Linked DNA regions of Homo sapiens: all the other regions are linked to region 1. The links are contacts of gene promoters, found by promoter capture Hi-C in blood cells and fetal thymus (Javierre and others, 2016). All regions are on one chromosome and are shown on one strand. Each heading gives the region's core, a stretch centred on a gene start or on the middle of the fragment in contact. The rest is flanking DNA. Distances are from core to core; before and after follow the strand shown. Region 1 holds the start of NLRP6 (NLR family pyrin domain containing 6). Region 2 has its middle 9.2 kb from the start of RNH1. Region 3 holds the start of PTDSS2 (phosphatidylserine synthase 2).

Evidence for each region. The method cuts DNA at HindIII sites, captures the fragments that hold promoters and counts their contacts. A CHiCAGO score of 5 or more calls a contact.
Region 2: a fragment that was not itself captured here is called in contact with the fragment with the promoter of NLRP6 in region 1 in 3 of 17 cell types (total CD8 T cells, erythroblasts and endothelial precursors); the score reaches 5.6 in total CD8 T cells.
Region 3: a fragment that was not itself captured here is called in contact with the fragment with the promoter of NLRP6 in region 1 in 8 of 17 cell types (total CD8 T cells, total CD4 T cells, naive CD4 T cells and 5 more); the score reaches 11.8 in total CD8 T cells.

Annotation. Positions count from the first base shown.
Region 1 is chr11:275,827-279,959 of GRCh38, forward strand. It overlaps NLRP6 (NLR family pyrin domain containing 6), which reads left to right and starts at 2,581. Exons shown (of 8, transcript NM_001276700.2): 1 at 2,581-2,772; 2 at 3,501-3,781; 3 at 4,008-4,046. The coding sequence starts at 2,744. RefSeq lists an enhancer at 3,881-4,133. The HindIII fragment of the contact is 27,921 bases long and covers 1-4,133 here.
Region 2 is chr11:514,372-518,504 of GRCh38, forward strand. It overlaps a transcript of LRRC56 not described here. Among named protein-coding and RNA genes, the nearest start is that of RNH1, 9.2 kb to the left of the region's middle. The HindIII fragment of the contact is 932 bases long and covers 1,526-2,457 here.
Region 3 is chr11:449,962-454,094 of GRCh38, forward strand. It overlaps PTDSS2 (phosphatidylserine synthase 2), which reads left to right and starts at 318. Exons shown (of 12, transcript NM_030783.3): 1 at 318-676. The coding sequence starts at 495. RefSeq lists enhancers at 1-504, 103-382 and silencers at 413-652, 843-902, 913-1,002. The HindIII fragment of the contact is 1,272 bases long and covers 1,062-2,333 here.

The DNA.
Region 1 (4,133 bases), core at 1,331-3,830:
AGTGGCTGGAGGCCAAAAGTTTGAGAACAGCCTGGGCAATATAGCAAGACTCAGTCTCTATTTTTTAATAAAAATATTAATTTATATAAAAATACAAAATTTTATTTGTCATCTTTACCATTTTAAGTGTATAGCTCAGTGCTAATAAATATATTTACACATATATTATTTTCTCCTTCATCTCCGTTCCCCTACTCTCTTTCCTGGCCTTTTTTATCTTTTAAAAGACAGAAGTCTTATTACCCTGCCAAAGATGGTCTTGAACTCTAGCAATCCTCCCACTTAAGCCTGTCCTGTAGCTAGGACTATGCCCAGTTTGGTTAAACGTATTTTTAATTCCTCTGACTTGTTTTTTGACCCATGTGTTATTTGCAAGTGTATTGTTTATTCCAAATATTGGGGGATTTTCTGATTGGGAAGCTCCTTCCATTCTTCCCAGTTTGCTTAGTGTTTTTAACCATGAAGAGGTGTTGGAAAATGTAGACTATTCTTTCTGTCTCTATTGAGATGATCAAGCAGTTTTTGTCCTCTTAAGTATTACTATGATATGTTACATTAATTGATTTTTGGATGTTAAACCAACCTTGCACTCCTTAGAGAAAACACACTTAGTCATGGTTTGTAATTGTTTTTATATGCTAATAGATTCTGTTTCTGAAGTAGTTTGTTAAGGATTTTTCATGCCTGTATTCATGAAGGATATTGGTTTACAGTTTTCTTCTGATGAGTTTGCCTGGTTTTGGTATCAGTGTCACAGGCCTCAGAGAATGAGTTGGGAAGCATTCCCTTGAGAGCTTTTCTTTGTGGGAAAGTTTTTTTTCCCTGTAATTAGTAATTCAATCTCTTTACTTGTTATAATTTGTCTTAGTCTATTCTCACATTGCTGTAAAGACATACCTGAGACAGGGTAATTTATAAAGAAAAGAGGTTTAACTAGCTCCTGGTTCTGTGGGCTGTACAGACTTTTGCTTCTGGGGAGGCCTCAGGAAACTTACAATCATGGCAGAAAGCAAAGGGGAAGCAGGCAAATATTCATGTGGCCAAAAGGACAGAGAGAGCAAAGTGGGACATGCTACACACTTTCAAACAACCAGATCTCATGAGAACTTACTCACTATTACAAGAACAGCAAGGACGAAATCCACCTTCATGATCCAATCACCTGCCACCAGGTCTCTCCCCCAACATTGGGAATTACAATTCAACATGAGATTTGGGTGGGGACACACAGCCAAACTGTTATCAGAAAGAGGTCTTGATCCAGACATCATGGTTCTTGGATCTCATGCAAGAAAGAATTTGAGTCAAATCCATAAAGAGTAAAGTGCCAGGCATGGTCGCTCACACCAGTAATCCCAGCACTTTGGGAGGTCCAAGGCAGGCAGATCACAAGGTCAAGAGTTCAAGGCCAGCCTGACCAACATGGTGAAACCCCGTCTCTACTAAAAATACAAAAATTAGCCAGGCATGGTGGTGCATGCCTGTAATTCCAGCTACTCAGGAGGCTGAGGCAGGAGAATTGCTTGAACCCAGGAGGCGGAGTTTGAAGTGAGCCGAGATCGTGCCACTGCACTCCGCCTGGCGACAGAACGAGACTCCATGAAAAAAAAAAAAAAAAAAAAAAGAGTAAAGTGAGAGCAAGTTTATTGAGAAAGTAAAGGAATAAAAGAATGGCTATTCTATAGGCAGAGCAGCCCCAAAGGCTGCTGGTTGCCCATTTTTATGGTTATTTCTTGATTATATGCTAAACGAGGAGTGGATTATTCATGAGTTTTCCAGGAAAGTGGTGGGCAATTCTCAGAACTGAGGGTTCCTCCCCTTTTAGACCATATAGGGTAACTTCCTGACTTTGCCATGGCATTTATAAACTGTCATCGTGTTGGTGGGAGTGTCTTTTAGTGTGCTAATGTACTGTAACTAGAGTAATGAGCTGTGAGGATGACCAGAGGTCACTCTCATTGCCATCTTGGTTCTGGTGGTTTTGGGCCAGCTTCTTTACACCATTATCAGCAAGGCCTTTATGACCTGTATCTTGTGTCAACCTCCTGTCTCATCCTGTGACTTAGAATGTCTACCCTCCTGGGAATGCAGCCCAGTAGGTCTCAGCCTTATTTTACCCAGCACCTCTCATTTCCACATATTAACCCCCCCGTTCCACACACTCTCACATTTGGTCCCAGGGGTCTCGAACACCCCTGACGTCCAGCCTCTGCCCGCCAGCTGTTCAGGTCGGGTGGGGAGGCTGCAGTGCAGACCCCTGCCCGGCGTCTCCCTGGAGACTGCCTTCCCTCCCATATATGGTGCGTGCTGCTGGCTGTCCCCCCTGTTCCCTCTACCTGGAAGTCTTTCCTCACCCCTGCCTTCAGAGTCTAACCTCTCCCCAGGCCTCAGCTGAAGGCCTGGCTCTGAGCCAGCCACCTCCTTCACACAACCCACCTTGCTCTGAAGCTGCCTGCTCACAGCCATGCCCCGATGCCACACCCAGGGGTTCTTGGGGAACATTAATGGGATAAAGGAGTAAGAAAATCAAAGGTCACCAAACGGAGCCCTTAAAGGGCAATGCTCTGCGTGTGCCACGGTGCCCAACAGCATCTCGTGCCAGCTGAGCTGCGGTGTGTGGACCCGGGGAATGGACCGGGCTGGACAACCTCTAAGACTTGGCTCCAGCTCAGCCTGTGAAGGAATCACCTCTCTGATCCCCACCTCTGCCCCGGAGTGCTAGACCCAGGGAGGAAGAGACCCCATGGACCAGCCAGAGGCCCCCTGCTCCAGGTGAGTGCTGGCCCCAGGGTGGTCACTGGGAACCGGCTGGTCTCAGCCCTCTGGGGCCTCCACCTCACCCGCTGACTTCCTCAGGCTCTCCACCCTTGTCCACATCCTTCCCCCACCCTCACTCCCAGGCTCAGGAGCCAAGCACTGCCTCCCCACAGAGGGCATTTGTGGAGTCTGTTCCCCACCAGGGGCTCAGATTCAGGCCCTGGTGCAAGGCCCCAAGCTGGGCCCCACCAAAGTGTGGCAGGGGTGGGGGCCCAGGAATACAGCCTGGGCCTGGCAGTGTCTGCTGCCAAAGAGGCCAGTTCTGCTCCGGGATCGGGAAGAGAGGGAAAAGAAGGAAAGCGAGGAAAGAGAGCTCAGGGTTCCTTGGAAATACCTCCCTCGGGGCATGTGACCTGTCCTGGGGTGTGGAAGGACAGAAGCAGAAAGGGAGGTGCAGGGGAGGAAGGTGCCCCCCAGAGCTCAGATCAGCGGCGGCCAGTGCCCACTTCACCCTCAGAGGGCGAAGAACACCAAGACGCCCCGACCCGGGTCCGGGGACGGGGGAGGGAAAAGTCTGGGGTCACTCCCCGTTGCCCCCTCCCGCCACCCCATGGATCCAGACGATGCTTGGCCCGGGACTCCCTGAGGCCCTGCCCGCGGTGGGTTCTCCGGCGCCAGAGTCGGGGGCGGGCGGGGGTCACCCGAGGGCCGCTCCCCGATGACCCGCGCCCGCCCGCCTCCAGCACGGGGCCGCGCCTCGCGGTGGCCCGCGAGCTGCTCCTGGCTGCGCTGGAGGAACTGAGCCAAGAGCAGCTGAAGCGCTTCCGCCACAAGCTGCGCGACGTGGGCCCGGACGGACGCAGCATCCCGTGGGGGCGGCTGGAGCGCGCGGACGCCGTGGACCTCGCGGAGCAGCTGGCCCAGTTCTACGGCCCGGAGCCTGCCCTGGAGGTGGCCCGCAAGACCCTCAAGAGGGCGGACGCGCGCGACGTGGCGGCGCAGCTCCAGGAGCGGCGGCTGCAGCGTGAGTTCTGCGCGGGAGGTCCCTCCTGTCTGGGCAGAGGCTGGGCTGCCCTCCTTCCCGCTTCCCGGAGAAGCCCCGGCGCGGTCCCCGGCCCCCGCGCGTTTTATCCACAAATTCGCGGGCCCCAGGGGTAGGACCCTGCGTGCTCCTCAGGGTGACTCGGACCCCCGTGGCGCCTTCCCCTGTTCCCGCCCTCGGCGGAACCTCACCCCAGTTTCCCTTCCAGGGCTCGGGCTCGGCTCCGGGACGCTGCTCTCCGTGTCCGGTGGGTCTCTCGCTGGGGGGGCACGAGTGTCCCCAACCCCACTTGGAGGGTCCCGGGGAGGACCGGGGTGGGAGGGCCGCCAGGGGC
Region 2 (4,133 bases), core at 742-3,241, 240 kb after region 1:
TGCCTCCCAGGCTGAAGCAATCCTCCCACCTCTGTCTCCCTAGTAGCTGGGACCACAGGTGCACACCCCCACACCCGGCTAATTTTTTGTATTTTTGGTAGAGACAGGGTTTCACCATGTTGCCCAGGCTGGTCTCCTGAGCTCATGCAATCTGCCCACTTGACCTCCCAAAGTGCTGGGATTACAGGTGTGAGCCACTGTGCCCAGCCTATTATTATTATTATTTATTGTTTTTTTGGTCTTGAGGGAGGGTAGGGTGGTGGGAGCCCAGTTGGGGAGGGAGTGAGGAGTGGTCAATAAAGTATTTTAAATTGAGGCATATGCATTGTTTTGTAAACATAATGTTATTGCACACCTGACTGCACTGTGGTATAAACATAACTTTTATATGCAGTGGAAAACCGAAAAATCCCTCCGACTGGCTTTATTGCGACATTTGTGTTATTGCGGTGTCTAGAACTGAACCGTGGTAACCCAGGCCCGCCTGTGCTAACTTCCAGCACTACCGAGGTTGACGCAGCTAGATGGTTTTCTCCCCGGCTGGTTGCTGCTTCTCACCCACAGAGGCGGTGGAGCCCTTGGAACTGGGCAGAACACAGGGCTGCCTTGTCACCACTGCCTGGCTGAACCTGAAATTGGGCCGTTTGACAGAAAGACTTGAAAGGGCCACCAGTAAATTCTTTTTTCTTTTCATTGATTTTCCTCTTCTTACTTTCCTCCTCCTGAAGTTGGGGTCATGTCCCAAGAAGACCCACAAGGCCTGGCCTGTGGGTGCACATGTGGGGAGGGTCAGGTCTGTCGGCTGAGGAGGGCATTGGTAGGGGACTTTGAGCAGTGCTGCTCCGGAGACACGAATGATGGGATGGGAGGCTCTCCCATATCTGCCGAGAGCACAGCACCCCATGACTCCTGGGAGCTTGTCATAGATGCTGCAGATGAGTCCTTCCTCAGACGGGATATTTGCTAATGCCTCTGCCAGCCTGGGCTTGTCTTCTCAGGGCCTTTCAAAATGCACACACCCTTCATTCTCATGATGTCCAGTGGATCAGGTTTTCCTTTATGTGTCATGCTTTTAGTGTTTAAGAATCATTTCTCTAACCCAAGTCACACTGACATCCTCCTTTTCATTCTTAACGCACATTTTACAGTTGTAGGCCTTACATTTTGGCTTATAATAAGTTCTGAGGCCAGGCACAGTGCTCACACCTGTAATCCTGGCACTTTGAGAGGCCAAGGCGGGTGGATCACCAGAGGTCAGGAGTTTGACACAAGCCTGGCCAACATGGTGAAACCCCGTCTCTACTAAAAATACAAAAAGTAGCCAGGTGTGGTGGCGGGCACCTGTAATCCCAGCTACTCCAGAGGCTGAGGCAGGAGAATCACTTGAACCTGGGAGACAGAGGTTGCAGTGAGTCAAGATTGTGCCACTGCCCTCCAACCTGGGCGAGAGAGTGAGACTCCATCTCAAAAAAATTAATAGTAAATTTTGAATGGATTTATATATGTACTGTCATGTATAGATTGAAGCTTCCATTCATATGTGTAGCCCCGTCATTCTAGTACCATTTGTTGCTAAGATTCTCCTTTCTCTGCTGAATTTGCTTACACTTATTTCAAAATCAGTTGAGCATGTATGTGAGGGTCTACTCTCGATCCTCTATTCTGTTCCACTGATCTATTTGTCTATCCTGTTACCAATGCCACACTGTCTGGATTTCTGAACCTTTATAACACATCTTGGGCCAGGTGCAAAGGTTCACGCCTGTAATCCTAGCACTTTGGGAGGCCGAGGTGGGTGGATCACTTGAGGCCAGGAGTTCAAGACCAGCCTGGCCAACATGGCGAAACCCGTCTCTACCAAAAATACAAAAACTAGCCAGGCATGGTGGTACACGCCTGTAATCCCAGCTACTCGGGAGGCTGAGGTACAAGAATCACTTGAGCCCCAGAGGCGGAGGCTGCAGTGAGCTGAGATCGTACCACTGCACTCCAGCCTGAGTGACAGAGCGAGCCTCCATCTCAAAAAAAAAAAAACCCAAATCTTGAAGCCAGGCATAGAATGCCCTCTCACTTGACCATTGTTTTCCAGAGCTGTTTTGATGATTGTAGGCCCACAGCATTGCCACACACTGAAACACAGGCCCATGAGCACACATATATGTATAATACAAATATAAGTGCACACCATGACGCAGTGAAATTTATCACAGGAATGCAAGGCTGGTTCAACATGAAATATGAGCCAATGGAATTCACCATATAAGCAGATTAAAAGACAAAAAGACGGCCGGACGTGGTGGCTCACATCTGTGATCCCAGCACTTTGGGAGGCTGAAGCAGGAGGATTCTGAGCAACATAGTGAGACCTGGTCTCTAAATAAATAAAATAAGACAAAAATACATCATCATTTCAGTAGACTTAGAAAAGGCATTTGACAGAATCCAGCAGGCTTATAAAGCTTTTTAATTATTTTTTTCTCCCTCTCCCTCTCCCTCTCCCTTCGGTCTCCCTCTGTTGCCGAGGCTGGACTGTACTGCTGTGGTCTCGGCTTGCTGCAGCCTCCCTGCCCCGGGCTCCCATGGTTCTCCTGCCTCGGCCTGCCAAGTGCCTGGGATTGCAGGCATGCACCGCCACGCCTGACTGGTTTTTGTATTTTTGGAGGAGACGGGGTTTTGCCCTGTTGACCGGGCTGGTCTCCGGCTCCTGACCTCCAATGGTCTGCCCGCCTCGGCCTCCCGGGGTGCTGGGATTGCAGACGGAGTCTTGCTCACTCAATGCTCAGTGTTGCCAAGGCTGGAGCGCAGTGGCGTGATCTCAGCTCGCCACAACCTCTACCTTCCAGCTGCCTGCCTTGGCCTCCCAAAGTGCTAAGATTACAGCCTCTGCCCGGCCGCCACCCCGTCTGGGAGGTGAGGAGCATCTCTGCCCGGCCGCCCATCGTCTGGGAGGTGAGGAGCGCCTCTGCCCGGCCGCCCGGTCTGGGAAGTGGGCGCCTCTGCCCAGCTGCCCCGTCTGGGAGGTGGGGGGCGCCTCTGCCTGGCTGCCCCGTCTGGGAGTTGAGGGGTGCCTCTGCCCGACCGCCCCACCTGGGAAGTGAGGGGCACCTCTGCCCAGCCACCGCCTTATCTGGAAGGTGGGGAGCGCCTCTGCCCGACTGCCCCGTCTGGGAAGTGGGCGCCTCTGCCCGGCCGTCCCATCTGGGGGGTGAGGAGCACCTCTGCCCGGCCACCCCGTCTGGGAGGTGAGGAGTGCCTCTGCCAGGCCGCCCCGTCTGGGAAGTGTACCCAACAGCTCCAAAGAGACAGCGACCATCGAGAACGGGCCATGATGACAGTGGCAGTTTTGTCAAAAAGAAAAGGGGGAAATGTGGGGAAAAGAAAGAGAGGTCAGATTGTTACTGTGTCTGTGTAGAAAGAAGTAGACATAGGAGACTCCGTTTTGTTCTGTACTAAGAAAAATTCTTCTGTCTTGGGATGCTGTTAATCTATAACCTTACCCCCAACCCCGTGCTCTCTGAAACGTGCTGTGTCAACTCAGGGTTAAATGGATTAAGGGCGGTGCCAGATGTGCTTTGTTAAACAGATGCTTGGAGGCAGCATGCTCGTTAAGAGTCATCACCATTCCCTAATCTCAACTACCCAGGGACACAAACACTGCGGAAGGCCGCAGGGACCTCTGCCTAGGAAAACCAGAGACCTTTGTTCACGTGTTTATCTGCTGACCTTCTCTCCACTATTATCCTATGACCCTGCCACATCCCCCTCTCTGAGAAACACCCAAGAATGATCAATAAATAAAAAATAATAATAATAAAATTTTTTTTTTTTTGAGATGGAGTCTCGCTCTGTCGCCTAGGCTGGAGTGCAGTGGCCCATCTCAGCTCACTGCAAGCTCCGCCTCCCGGGTTCACGCCATTCTCCTGCCTCAGCCTTAGGAGTAGCTGGGACTACAGGTGCCCGCCACCACGCCCAGCTAATTTTTTGTATTTCTGGTAGAGACGGGGTTTCATGGTGTTAGCCAGGATGGTCTCGATCTCCTGACCTCGTGATCCACCCGCCTCGGCCTCGCAAAGTGCTTGGGATTACAGGCGTGAGCCACCGCGCCAGGTCAGCTTTTTAAATTTTTTTTGTAT
Region 3 (4,133 bases), core at 448-2,947, 170 kb after region 1:
CGGGTCGCATGGGGTGAAGGGTCGGGAAGCGCCCCAAAAGGAGAACGGGGCTGGGCTCCGGGATCCGTCGGCGAGGAAGGGGCGAAGGGGTGGAGGGACTCGGGCCAGGCCGCCGGGGATGTCTGTGGTTACCTCCAAGCTCTGGAGGCCTTGGCGAGACCCGCGCCATCCGCAGCTTGGTTCCTGCGACCTCAGCCGCAGGGCGGTCCGGCTCCGGTTTCCCAGCAACCAGGCGTCATCCTTCCCAGCAAGCACTGCGTCCAACCCGCGACGTCGGACCACAAGGCCCAGCATGCCCCGCGCGGACTACAAGCCCCACAATGCACCGCACACCCTTTACTGGCCGGCCCCGCGCTGCTCTCCTAAGACCCCGCGGGCCAGCGCCGCGACCCCTTCCCAGCGCTCCTCGCGCTGTGTGCGGCGCGTCCTCTCGCCGGTGACCCGGTGTGCGTGGGGTCGAGGCGCCGGGCGGAGTGGCTCCGGGCCGAAACGCCATGCGGAGGGGCGAGCGCAGGGACGCCGGAGGTCCGCGGCCCGAGTCCCCGGTGCCCGCGGGCAGGGCCTCGCTGGAGGAGCCGCCTGACGGGCCGTCTGCCGGCCAAGCCACCGGGCCGGGCGAGGGCCGCCGCAGCACCGAGTCCGAGGTCTACGACGACGGCACCAACACCTTCTTCTGGTGAGGGCAGTGGGCGGCCGCGGGGCGGCGAGGGTGCCCTCGACCTGGGGGTTCCGGCACCGCTGGCCTGGGGGTCCCCGGCAGCGCCCTCTCGCCGTCTTGGAGTCCAGGACTGTGGCCGGGGGTTTGAGGGTGTGGCAGCACCGCCCCCCGGGTCCCGGGGAGCGGCCGGACCGAGCTCCCGACGCCGGGTCGGGCGGAGGGCGGCGCTGTAGGTGGGGGAGACCCTGGGCAGACCCTCCCTGCGGCCGCTTTGCGTCTCTCTCGCCGCCCTCCCCACCCCTGCCCGCCTTGGCTCTGACCGCGCGGTTCTGCGATCCAGACCCCTTCCCCGCCACCCGCCTCCAGCGTCACCCCAGAAACGCTTTCTCTGTCCTGCTGTCGAAGCTTCACCTGTGTCCCCCGTCATTCTGCCTGTGGTTGCTCCTCAGTGCTTGCGGCTGCACGAAATCATCTTGTGTGTCGCGCCCGACCCCACGTGGCGATCGTGTTGATTAGCAGAGTGTTGTGCGTGCTTCAGGAATGTAGTCGGTGTTCGTCGAATCCAGGCTCTGTTTCTCTCCTCAGTTGCCCCTAGCGGGGCCAGCGCCTCCTCCCTGCACAACTCAGCCCTAGCTACACCTTGGGGTCCCCCTGTCCGCCACTCTGCCTTTAATGGGGGTGGAAAAGGAAGAGGCCCCCGGGAGCAGCTGGAGTGTGGCACTCTGTGTCCAGACAGGCTCCAGGTGCCGCTCCTACTCCCGACAGCTGCGACCCTGGGCTGGCCCTTTGCCGATGCTCCTCTGTGAGAAGGATCAAGCCGTCGACCTGAAAGCAGGCTTCGTGAGAGGAGGGTTTGGCTCTTCTTGACTGCAAGGTGCCCAGTTCCCATCCTGTGGAAGGCCCGGGGGCACAGGGGCAGTAGAGGTGGGGTCAGCCCCAGGAAAACGTGTGGGAGACAGGCGCCTGCGGCCAGCAGTGGAAGGAAGGCTTTATGGACGCTTCCAAGAGAACCATGCTGTGGGATGGTCGGAGAGCAAATCTGAGGGGCGAGGAGGGCCTGATGGAGGAGTAAGGGACTTGTCAGGGGAAGGCGCCACCACAGACAGGGACTTAACCGGTCCTGGCCTGTCACCGCAGCCGAAGCTCTGGAGAGAGACTGTCCAAGTGGTGGGAAAGCAGGTTAGGGTGGAGGAGGCCCCACGCAGGGTCTTCCGTGAGGTGTGGGCAGCTGCTGTTGCAGGGAGGGCATCCGAGCTCTCCTTTGGGGAGATGAGTGTACCGGGTGGCTGCGGGGCCCTCGGGAGGGAGAGGAGATGGGGTGCCTGCCACGTGGACCCTCTGGCTTCCGGGCCCTGTGGACATCAGGCCTCTCCATCAGGTGCCCTGCCACACCCCTTCAGGCTGTCCTCCCGCAGCACAGCTGGGGACCACCGGAGTCTCTGAGGTCCTGGAGCAAGGAGACCAGACTGGCTCTTCTGAGGTCCCGGAGCAAGAAGACCAGACGGGCTCCTCTGACATCCCGGAGCAAGGAGAACAGACGGGCTCCTCTGAGGTCCCGGAGCGAGGAGACCAGACTGGCTCTTCTTGTTTCTCATTTGGCCGTTCAGCACATTGTGGGGACCCCTACTGCCTGTCAGTTACCGTTCTACGGGACATAGCAGAGAACTAAACAAGAAGCTTAGATTCTGGTGCAGGCATGGAACTTCAGAAGGCTCAAAATGTGCTGGCTGGGTGCTGAGTGTGGCAGGAGCCAGGGGGCACATGCAAGCCTGCGCAGCCCACCCAGTACCAGGGAAGCAGGAGCAGCAGCCCAAAGGTAGGAGGGGGCCGGTCTCTTTAGAAGCCCAGACCAGTGGTCCCTGCCCACAAGGGGTGTTTGGGACACAGACGGCTGGGCGCAGCAGAGCTTGCCTGTCAGGAGGCCAAGGGGGTCAGGAGGGCTCTCCAGGAGCGGGTGCAGCGGGGCTGGCTGGTCCAGGTACCTCCTTCCTGGGTCTTCTGGGTGGGTGGCTCTGGCTCTGGCTTTCCCCTCGACCCTGTCCCTGTAGAGACGCATGGGGCAGGTTCTTGCTGTGCCTCCTCCCTTCCCTGTGCAGAGGAAGGAGCTTCACGCTTCTGGGTGGCAGGTAACTCAATGCCTGCCTGGTGAGAATTCATTACCTGCAGAGCCTCACACTGACCTCCTGAGTCCACCTGCACTGACTTGCTGTGCTGGCATTTTTTTAACTCTAATTTTGTGTTTTAGAGAGTTTTACTTTTTATTTTTTATTCATTTTTATTTATTTATTTATTTTTAATAGAGGGTCCCCCTGTGTTGCCCAGGCTGGTCTTCAACTCCTGGCCTCAAGTGATCCTTCCGCCTCAGCCTCCCAGATTGCTGAGATTACAGGCATGCACCACCACATCCAGCCAGGGCGTTCATTTTCAAGGATGGGTGCACTTCCTCGGGCCAGTGACGGCGGCCATGTGTGAATTTTGTTTCTCTGTGACTGCTTGTCAGCCATAGGGATAGGGCGTGCGGTTCGATTCAGGGCTTGACTGGCCCTGGGAGCACGAGGCTGAGCTCTCCTTCTCTGGATTCATTCAGGGTAGCAAGGACAATTATGGGGAACATCCAGAGGAAAACGTTTAGATCCACAGACTCCGAGAAGCCCTGTGCGAAGATGTGGCAGCTCATGCGGTCTGGAAATTGTTTGGGAGAACACTTGGGGACCCCTTACCCTGGCGAGGTGCCTGTGAACGTTGCCGCCTGTCTGTGGGAGACGCTGAAGCAGCTTCGGATGACCACACTTGCTAACCAGTTCCCGAGCTGGGGGCCACTGTGATGTTCTGAGAGTTTTTATTGTATGCTTGTGTCTTGGAATGGGGTGCCTCAAATGAGCCTTCTCAGTGACCTGAGGACTTTATGTGTGAGGTGACCTCTGACCTTCAGATACCCCAGGTTTCTGGAAGATGCCTTTCTCCATCATCCTGGATCGGGGCTTTCCCAGCTTTGCCTACACCTGGGAGGCGCGAGTAGCCAGATGAAGTCTTTCTGGTCTTGCTGGTCAGAGCCAGAAGGGCCAGTGCCCGGTCCAGGAGCCTCTCGCAGGCCTTGGGCTGCCCATCCAGGCGTGGCCTTTCCTTGGCCCTTTGGACGACGACGCCGCGTTTTCCTCTTGGTCTCGGCCTCCCTGCCCACCATGAGAGTGGACATGAGAGTGACCATCTCCAAGGAGGCAGCTGGGTCTTTTCCACTCCCCATGGCAGGGAGCCAGCTGTCTTCACGCCCTCACCCTAGTGAAGTGGCTGAATTGCCAGGATTGATCACAGCTCTGTTCTGTGTCTGATCACAGGACATACACCGTCCTGCAGAGTCTGCAGGCGGGTGGGAGGAGCCATTGAACAGACCTGGCGTCCTGGGAGGGACACGGAATTCTTCCCTTGAGAGTCTCATGCTATCTTGAGCGGCACTCTGTCACTTCCAAGATGTGTA